Regions from separate parts of the Homo sapiens genome. Here region 1 is linked to region 2. Evidence: promoter capture Hi-C in 16 types of primary human blood cells and fetal thymus (Javierre and others, 2016). All regions are on one chromosome and are shown on one strand. Each heading gives the region's core, a stretch centred on a gene start or on the middle of the fragment in contact. The rest is flanking DNA. Distances are from core to core; before and after follow the strand shown. Region 1 overlaps RHEX (regulator of hemoglobinization and erythroid cell expansion). Region 2 holds the start of PM20D1 (peptidase M20 domain containing 1).

Region 1 (4,983 bases), core at 122-2,621, 240 kb after region 2:
GTCACACCGTTAGCAAGTGACAGAGCCAGGAGAAGGCAGGCCCTAGCTCCCTTCTTTCCCCTTCTTTTGTTCTCCCTTCTTTTTGTTCTCTTTCCATTATACCTTAGCTAATGTTAAAAACAACAAATTAATGGAGACAGCAAAGAAAGTTTACAGCTACTTCATTTGAAAAGATTAATAAAGTCAGTTGACAATGTTGATTATAATTACTTTGATCCATATGATTTTTCTTTTTTTTTTTTTCCTTTTCAGACAGAGTCTTGCTCTGTCACACAGGCTGGAGTACAGTGGCGTGATCTCAGCTCACTGCAACCTCCGCTTCCTGGGTTCAAGCAATTCTCTGCCTCAACCTCTCGAGTAGCTAGGATTACAGGTGCCTGCCACCATGCCCGGCTAATTTTTGTATTTTTAGTAGAGACGGGGTTTCACCATCTTGGCCAGGCTGGTCTTGAACTCCCGACCTCATGATCCACCCACCTCGGCCTCCCAAAGTGCTGGGATTACAGGTGTGGGCTACTGCGCCTAGCCTAATCCATATGATTTTTCATAGAAATCATCTTCTATTGTGATCTTGTTTTAAACCGTTCTTTCTAGAATAAACCTATCCAAAGAAAGCATGGTGTATGGCAGGAAAGTGGGCATCTTTTTATTCTCCCCCTGATATTACGCTGTACCTATTGGAAAGGCCATGAGAAAGCTCCTGTATCAGTGGAGGAGGGAAACTTAATAAAATGGAATCCAGCCTTAACTCAAGTCTGAAGCAAACAAAATAAATGCTCTTAGCACTGGGACGAAGTAGGGTTTTTTTTGGTCGGGGGAGGAGGGACAGGGTTTTACTCTGTCACCCAGGCTCTTCTCAAACTCCTGGTCTCAAGTGATTCTTCCACCTCGCTCTCCCAAAGTGCTGAGATTACAAGCATGAGCCACCGTGCCCAGCCTAAAGTTTGGTTTTGAGGTGCCTGGCAGGGCACTACATTAGTGTGGGGGCTGGATGTCAAAATTCAGCACAGTGGAAGAGGACAGAACCGTCCCTACCTCGAGGATGGAACGAGGCACACCAAACCCTCACACAGTCCATGCGCTTTTTCACAACATAATTACCTTAAATTGCCCATTTCCTGGTTATTTGGTGTGTGTGTGTGTGTGTGTGTGTGTGTGTCACGTGCACGCGCAAATGAGCAGATGTCTCTGCTGATTGTCTGATCAGCAGTCTGCAATTAGACCCCAAGGAACAACCTGCTCATTGTGGTTAGGGGCCATTAGCCACTTAAATAATGACATCTGTCATAATTTTCATACCTTGGATCTTATCTCCAAACTGTACTCAAAACAAATGCCTAAGTTTTCTAAAATAGACCAATCCAATTTTTAATAGTTCTAGTCACCATCGTGGTGGAGGATTTTAGGGTTGAATAATACCTAATAATTACTGAGTGCCTCGTATATGCCTGGAATTGTATAAAGGTCTTTACAAACAGCATAAATCACTGAGCTCATGCAAGAACTCTGTGAAGTAGGAAACTATTATTCTTCTCACTTTATAGATACTGAAATTATTAAACTGAGACACTGAATTCAATAATTAACATCTAGAAGGGAACTGAACTGAAATTAGTATTTAAGAATGTTGGACGTCCGTATTATTTACTGTTTTCATTTGGATGAGCTGCTGTGTGTCATTTGGCTAGTAAGGGAGACAGGGTCTTACTCTGTCACCGGGCTCTTCTCAAACTCCCGGCCTCGGTGATCCTTCCACCTCGCTATCCCAAAGTGTACGCTCTGAGTATATGCTCAGAATATATTAAAATGTGGAAGATGGTGTAGGCAATCTAGTTTTGTATAAAGGGCCAAAATAAGGCATTAATCTTAAAATAATGGAACATATATCAAATTCAGTGATTCTCAACTGAGAGCAAACCCTCCTACCTCAGGGGGCTTTGGAAATGTGTGGGGTCATTTGGGGTCCCTTTGGCCATTACACTGGCCTGTTACACTGGGGGGCTTTCAGGAGGCTCCACAACCTGCCGTCTGCAAGACAGTTTTAGACAATAAGGACTTGTCTGGCTCCAAATGTCAGATACTACCGAGAAACACTGATCAAGGGCAATGGTAGGAATTCGAAATGATACCGTAAAACTCAAAGGTGGCAAACTCAAATGCCTTTAGGGATTAGTCAGGAAGTGAACAAATCATGTCCCAGTTTAGGGGCATACAAATTCAAATCACTAAAGCACTTCATCAGACAAAAATTAGGTGTCAAATGTGGCCTGTGGATCGCCTGGTTGGAGCCTTTTAGGGGAGGTTTTTCCTGACCAAAAAAACATGTTTACGATATATTAAGAGTAAAAAAATAGCTAACAATCTGTATGATTCCATGTTTTAAAGACATTGTCTCTGTGTACACACATTATTTGCATATATACATGCACTTATATCCATGAAAATATTTAGAAAATTTTCTGGAAGGATATGGAATAAGATTTGGGGTAATTTTGGCTGGGCGCGGTGGCTCACGCCTGTAATCCCAGCACTTTGGGAGGCCAAGGCAGGCGGATCACCTGAGGTTGGGAGTTCGAGACCAGCCTGACCAACATGGAGAAACCCCGTCTCTACTGAAAATACAAAATTAGCAGGGCATGGTGGTGCATACCTGAAATCCCAGCTACTTGGGAGGCTCAGGCAGGAGAATCGCTTGAACCTGGGAGGTGGAGGTCGCAGTGAGCCGAGATCGTGTCATTGTACTCCAGCCTGGGCAACAAGGCAAAACTCCATCTCAAAAAAAAAGATTTGGGGTAATTTTTTTTTTTTGATACAGGATCTCACTCTGTCACCCAGACTGGAGTGCAGTGGCATGATCATGGCTCACTGCAGCCTCAACCTGGACTCGGGTGATCCTCCCACCTCAGCCTCCTGAGTAGCTGAGACTATAGGCACGTGCCAGGCACACCTAGCTAATTTTTTTGTATGTTTTTAGAGATGGGGTCTTGCTATGTTACCCGGGCTGGTCTTGACCTCTTAGACTCAAACAATCCACCTGCATCGGCCTCCCAAAGCGCTGGGGTTATAGGTATGAGCCACTGTGTCCGGCTCAATTTGGGGCGATTTTCTAAAACGTGTTGCTCATTCATATTTTTAATTCTTTGACTACAAATGTCTACTAGTTGTGTAATTTTAAATAAATAAAGTAGAAGAGGAGCCTTAAAAAATAAAAGCTTTGAGTGTAGTATTGGAAGACAGCCCAGGCAACCTACTGGCCAACCCCCTCAAGGGGAGAATCATGTCTGTGATTAAGGACAAATGAGATATTCAATATTAGACAATCGATACTAAAGCACCAGAATTCCTTTAAAAATGGAACATTGTTGTTTTCTCAGACACACTGGTCTAGCTTCTAGCCCCCTTCCACAATTTTCATTTCTTTCACGATACAATAAAGCTCTTCTGGTAAAGTCCAGTCTTCCTTGTGCAGCTGCCCTGGCAGGGGTCTTGAGGAACCCCAGATGAGGCTTGAGAAATCAGCATCTGTACTGAAATTTATCTTAGGGGGGCTTATCCAAAATTAGACAAGAGCAGGACATTTTCAAGACAGCTCTGCCCCTTTTTCAATCAAGTCACCAAATCCTTCAAGAAATCCCTGTCTTGCTTTATTGCAATCATGCTTGTGTTTTCTTTCCAGTGTGTTGGCTCTACACTTTTTATTTTTTATTTTGTGCACAAGTCCCCTGTTTTTTTTTTTTTTGGTTTTTTTTTTTGAGACAGGGTCTTGCTCTGTAACCCAGGCTGGAATGCAGTAGCACCATCTCACTTCACTGAAGTCTCGACCTCCTGGGATCAAGCGATCCTCCCACCTCAGCCTCCTAAGTAGCTGGGACCACAGGCACATGCCACCATGCCGGGATAATTTTTATATTTTTAGTAAAGACGAGGTTTCGCCATATTGCCCAGGCTGGTCATGAACTCCTAGGCTCAAGTGATCTGCCCACCTCAGCCTCCAAAAGTGCTGGGATTACAGGGGCAAGCCATCCTACCTGGCCCAAGACACTTTTGACTGAGCTTTCATTGTGGAGTTTGCTGATCATTGGGCAATATCGGATTTTTCTATCCATTTGTCTGAGGACTCTGAGGAGGTGAGAGACAGGTAATTTCCTGGAGTCTTTTCTCGCTCGCTGTCTGGGTCAGTCCCCAGGGTCCCTCCCTCCTGCCTCCCTGCAGCCCTCCTTACCAGCAACTAAGTCACAGCTGTCCTACAGAAAGAATCCATAAGCCCTGCTGCTAACAAGGTGACCTGTGGCGCTTCTTGGCACTGGATGCATGGACGAATGGAGAGAGGGCTCCAGCACAAACAGGAAGGGGAATTCTCTAATCTAGAACATTGCTGCTTTTCACTCCCCACCTACCCCTTTCACATGCTGAATCTATAACAAATAAGGAACTCATATCTGGATTCTGAATCCACTTTTATAAACGAAACTAAACAGAAATCTCTGGGAGTGAAAATGTTAAGTGCACTTTACTCATCAAGGTTCTTTAGGAGAAGTGTCTAGAATGTATCATGTAGGAAAGTGGGGACTGAAGCAAGTATGATGAATAAACTGGGCATGTGTCACAATTGATCCTCAAGTAGCTGAGTTTGCCCAAGGGAAATTTGTATAAAGAGCCCTGGAGTCCTGACCAGCTCCTTACCTCTTGCAGATCTCCAGCACCCTGCCGGTGGCACTACTGAGAGACGAGGTGCCAGGGTGGTTCCTGAAAGTGCCTGAGCCCCAACTTATCAGCAAGGAGCTCATCATGCTGACAGAGTGAGTGGGCCCAACAAGAGCAGGAGCAAGGTTCCCACCAAGCTAACTGGTGTAGCTGTCTTCCAAGCACACATAGCACCCTTCCTGGCTGCCCCAGCCTTATTGTCCAGAGAGGCAAAGGGACCTACCCTGGGACACGCAGCAATGCCAGATGTCTGCCTCCAGCTAGGACAGGGATAGGTTT
Region 2 (5,067 bases), core at 1,743-4,242:
CCTGTAACTAGGACTACAGGTGCTCGCCACCATGCATGGCTAATCCCAGAGCCATTTGTCCCAGGGTGTTAGAGAGGGGGCTGCTTGCTGCTCCTAGGCCACCTTCTCCCACCTCTGACAACTTTGGAGGGGTTGTTTTTAATTAGATTTAGGAAGGTAATCTCATCACTCTCCATGAGATTTTCATAAGGGGAGGGAGGAGTTCCAAGAATCCTTTTTTCCTCTGACCCATCCTTCCTCAGCTCTGTACTCAATGGGTGGTAGGGATGAGGGAAAAAGACTGATGTTATAGCTCAAAGTTGTTGACTGCCTAGAGGCCTAGAAATGTGTTAGTAATGAATCTGGGGTAGGCCTGAGTACGTGGAGTGTATATGTACCGGTGTGTTTGGGTGTGTAAGGAGGTAGGGGTGGGAGGAGCATGGAACATAGTTCTGGGCAGTTGCACAAGTAGAAGGAAATCCTAGTTCTACTTTTTGATGATTTAACATTTATTGAATGACACACATGTAGGGCAAAATTTGAGAGAGTTTGTACTCTAATGCAATGGCTGGATGAACTCTCAATCTTTGCCCTACATATGGTGGCTTAGTTTTTCCAAGAGCAAATCTACAGTCTCTACTCTGCCTATGGGAATTAGATTGTCCTCTGATCAGTCGCAAAATAAACTTCTTTATCACTTTGTAAAAGAACTGTGTCTCCATTGCTATTTCTACCACCCACCCCTTGCCCCTGATTTGCAGCTGACCTTTATGAATGTATTTTCCGAACTCAGCCAGGGCTGTAGTATTGGACTTCTCAGAGCTAAAAGTCACTGTTGGAATCTGGATGGCACCTGTCAGAGTCAAATAGAGATGAAAGATTGAAAATGAATTAGTCATTGTTTTTTTCTACAGTCCTCTGTGCACAAAAAGTTCTTTTGCCTTCATTATCATATTGCAGAGGGCAAAACACTAATGTGAGGTAGGCGCTATTGTTTCCTCTAATTCGAAGATGAGGGAAAATGCTTGGAGAGGTTAGGTGAGCTGTCTGAGCAACAGGCAGACTATAGATTTAAACCTATGTCTTCTGGGTTTGTTTAGGCTGATATGGTTCTTAAAGGCAAATACAGTCTAAGATTGGAGGGAAGTGGATTTTTGGATCCTGGTCTTGAAGGGAAGCTACTATAAATTGCTTCCTAAGGCCTCACTACCTCTGAAATCACCAATTGCTTTGATGAATCCAAGCTTCATCATTCTCAAGGCACCCACTGTCCTGGGTCCCTACATCAATGAGGCTTGTGTGTTTTTGTATGTAAAGGCTTATTCCTTATGCAGAGTCTCACTAGTCTGTCAACCAAGACCAGCTTTTTGGGCATATAATGCCTGGGAAGGGGTGGATTTAGAAGCCTCCAAACAAACTCCTCAGTCCTAAAATAATCTCACCCTCCTTACTCAGTTGTCTCAGTTCCTGAACCTTCACTGGGCTCATCCCTTTGAGTCTTTAAGACTTTACAGTTTTAAAGAGTTCCATGATCAAAGACAAAACCACTGGGAGGGAAAGCATGAATCATGAGAATATTGAATTAGACTGCTCTCCAAGAACACAGTGCAAACAAATTCACCTGAGGCAGGAAGGGTCTCTGAAAGACAAACTTCATCAGTTTTGCTAAGGATCAACCCTACAATAGCATAGCCCACCAGATAGATGGGGAAGCCGAGGTTCAGAAAGATTCAAGTGCCTACTCAAGGGCAGACCCAAGGATCTGATCTCAGGTGTTCTGTCCCCTGCTCAGAGTTCCAAGCTGTGTTGCTATGAGGTCCCTATTCTAGCTTATGTAGCTTTTGTTCTCTTCTGTGCAGACTGTGAGTGGCTGTCTAATGCCTTTTAGAGAATTATTTATGCTTTGGGAAAGCCCTGCTCTGCCTCCCAGGCTTGTCACTCTAGCATATGAACAATCTATATCCAACTATTGGGGTTAGCTTTTGGTCCCTGCATCTGCTTCTATATGTTTATGCAGGCAGTCTCTCTTAATCCATTACTTAATGAAAGGGAAAAGACTGGAGCTAAGCTGAATGGTAAAGAAGGATTTCATCCCATAGGATCTAGCACTCAACAGAAACTTTCCTGTTTCCTGGAAAATGCAGATTCAGAACAGGGATGAATTTTTGGTCTGGATTAGAGATCTAGAGGAGACATGTTCTTCAATTATGATTGAGAATTAGGAACATCCCACACCCCGGGAACACTCCACTCCCTTTCTTTAGAGCCATCTGATCCCAGCGAGTCCGACAGGCACTAGATGCTGTCACCCACTGCCCACTCTTTGCTGTGGGGCCCTGGGGAAGATCATTTAGCTGACCTAAGCCTCAATTTCTCTCCTTTGTAGATAAGACTAATATCATTTGTCTTATTTTACGACACCGCAGTAATTTATCAGGCATGCAAACTTTCAAAGGTTAAAATTGATGTACAAATGAAAGCTGGTGTAATACTCGAGGCAAGCAGGGGAAAGAATGGACGGTGGTCACGCCAAGAGGGGTGAAGTTGGAGCTTCCAGGTTAGGCAGGGCACACCAGAGTTCCAGGAGCCAGGTATGGGGGAAGTGTGGCGTCCCCAGACAGGGGCACGATGTGCTGGGAAGGGTGTTGGGGCCGGGCTGGGGTGCGTGTCGGGGCTCCAGCTGCAGTAGCAGATGCTTTGCGGCGGAAGCGGGGAGTCACGGGTTGACCTGGGGAGGGAGGGACCCACATATGAGCATAGGTGGGTGAAGGGGACCCGGGTTCACCTTTCAGCGCCTCTTTCATCGCGACGCGTTCCTCTTTGCTGAACTGAGAAGGGATTCGCGACGCCCTTTGATGCTCCCCGCTCCTCGGGCCCATCGATCTGGAGACGGTAGGGAAAACTAGGAGCAGCATAGCCACCAGGGCCAGCACGCAAACGCACCGCTGAGCCATGCTTCTCTCGAGCTCCTGCTGTCAGGCTACCGGGGTAGTTCTGACCTAAACGCCCAGACTAGCGTTTCTTGGCCCTAGCTCTGCTCTTATTCCGGCAAACAGCCTTAGCCACACCCCATATCCAGATCTGACCAATCATCGCTTCGCTAGGACAGCGGAACAACCAATTGACAGAATGACCCCGCCCAGGATCCTTAAGGCCTTTCGAGGGTTGTGGGTTTTCGTGCTGAGGCCAGCAGTTCCTGCAGAGCAGAGGTGAGGTCGGGCTCCAGGCTAGAGTCATGTCTGGTCCGCACTTGATCTCTCACCCATAAATCCTTTCCTGTATGACAACAAATCAAATAAAGGAGGAAAAGCAAAATAAAATGCACGAAGCTTATCAGACCATACTCTGCTGCTCGTTTTTTCCGAAGCTTAGAACCTGACTACAATTCCCTAGATCCTGGGGCGGGGGAGCTCTCTAGGTTCCCAGCTTGATTTCATCTGAAATTGGAACAAATTGCTCTGTTTATAGATACTGCTTTGAAATACCAGCTCAGAGGGTTGGCTCCTGTTTAGAAATTTCATTGAAAGTGCTTTTAATATTAATGTTAACACTACATTTTTGCAACTCTAGACAAGTACAGTAAGACTGAAGGATTTTTAGAAAGATTACTATAAAATATTTAAGAGAATTTTGATGTATAAATAATTTTGATGTATTCCACAAGTGAAATTTTATGGTTATTCAGAGTAGAGGATCATTCTGGAAAAAAGAAAACCTGTCTTATGTCACAGAAATATAAAATCAGATTTCCTGAAGCCAGAATAAATCGTTCCTTTCAGATTTCTTGATGCAATTTTATCTGGCATCACTCTCAAATTTTAGAATTCTCAAGAAAAATTCAGTAAGTGCTATACAACCAGTAAGGCCATATTGCTACCTGTGACCAAAGCTACAGGTTCACAGTCCTGGTGTTTGCATTTCATTTAAGATTTGCTTAAAAAAAAAAATTCAGCCATGTAGTTACTTTTCTTTTCTTTTCTTTTTTTTTCTCTCTCGGTGCCCAGGCTGGAGTGCAATGGGGCGATCTCGGCTCACCGCAACCTCCGCCTCCCAGTTTCAAGCAATTCTCTGGCCTCAGCCTCCCAAGTAGCTGGGATTACAGGCATGCACCACCATGCCTGGCTAATTTTGTATTTTTAGTAGAGATGGGGTTTCTCCATGTTGGTCAGGCTGGTCTCGAACTCCCGACCTCAGGTGATCTGCCCACCTCGACCTCCCAAAGTGCTGGGATTACAGGCGTGAGCCACCACACCCTGCCTAGTTACTTTTTAATAGCAACTTTAAAACAGTATCATGAAATACTTCACATATTATAAAGATATAAAAAATAACATAATGAACATTTCTGGATTCACCACCTAGTTTAAGATTTAGAATGTTAAAAATAGAGTTGAAATTTAAACATGAACATTGACATAATTTTTAGTAAAAAGTAGCTTAATCTCTACCTAACTTTAAAATTTTTTTAAAAGAGACTTTTTATTTTATATATTTATTATTTTTTAAAATTATTATTATTTTTGTAGAGATAGGGTTTCACTATTTTGTCCAGGCTGCTCTTGAACTCCTGGACTCAAGCAACCCTCCCATTTAAGCCTCCCAAAGTGCTAGTATTACAGGAATGAGCCACCACACCCAGCACAATTTTTATGATTGTAAAATTCATGTATATTTATGCCCTTGTGAAATATTTGGAACATTAAGTATAAAGAAAAAAATCACATGCTATCCCAATATCCAGAGACGTTCACTCATCATATTTTGATGTTATCCAATCTTTTTTCTCTGCACACAAATACCCACAAATGAAGGATGTCCCTGTTTTAAAATGAAACAGATGCATATACTGCATCCAAAGTTCTATGTTCTGCTTTTTTTCCTTTAACATTATGTCATAAACACTTCCTGGTCCTTAAATATTCTTTAAATTATCTTATCACATAATATTTGATAATTAAGAGTACGTACAACGTGTATGTAAAGTAAATAATAACATGAACACCCGTGATTTGGAGTTTAGACCTAACTGGTCAAACTGCATTTTTTCTCCTGTCACTGCTCCAATTCTTGCAATCTGTCTAATTCCCA

Evidence for each region. Contacts are between HindIII fragments. The CHiCAGO score rates a contact against its expected background, and 5 or more counts as called.
Region 1: a fragment that was not itself captured here is called in contact with the fragment with the promoter of PM20D1 in region 2 in 1 of 17 cell types (endothelial precursors); the score reaches 5.9 in endothelial precursors.

The regions. Positions count from the first base shown.
Region 1 is chr1:206,093,041-206,098,023 of GRCh38, forward strand. It overlaps RHEX (regulator of hemoglobinization and erythroid cell expansion), which reads left to right. Exons shown (of 6, transcript NM_001007544.4): 2 at 4,693-4,799. The coding sequence starts at 4,789. Among named protein-coding and RNA genes, the nearest start is that of AVPR1B, 22 kb to the right of the region's middle. The HindIII fragment of the contact is 3,685 bases long and covers 1-3,214 here.
Region 2 is chr1:205,847,140-205,852,206 of GRCh38, forward strand. PM20D1 (peptidase M20 domain containing 1) reads right to left here and starts at 2,993. Exons shown (of 13, transcript NM_152491.5): 1 at 2,765-2,993; 2 at 746-832. The coding sequence starts at 2,933. RefSeq lists an enhancer at 2,922-3,216. The HindIII fragment of the contact is 2,085 bases long and covers 1,222-3,306 here.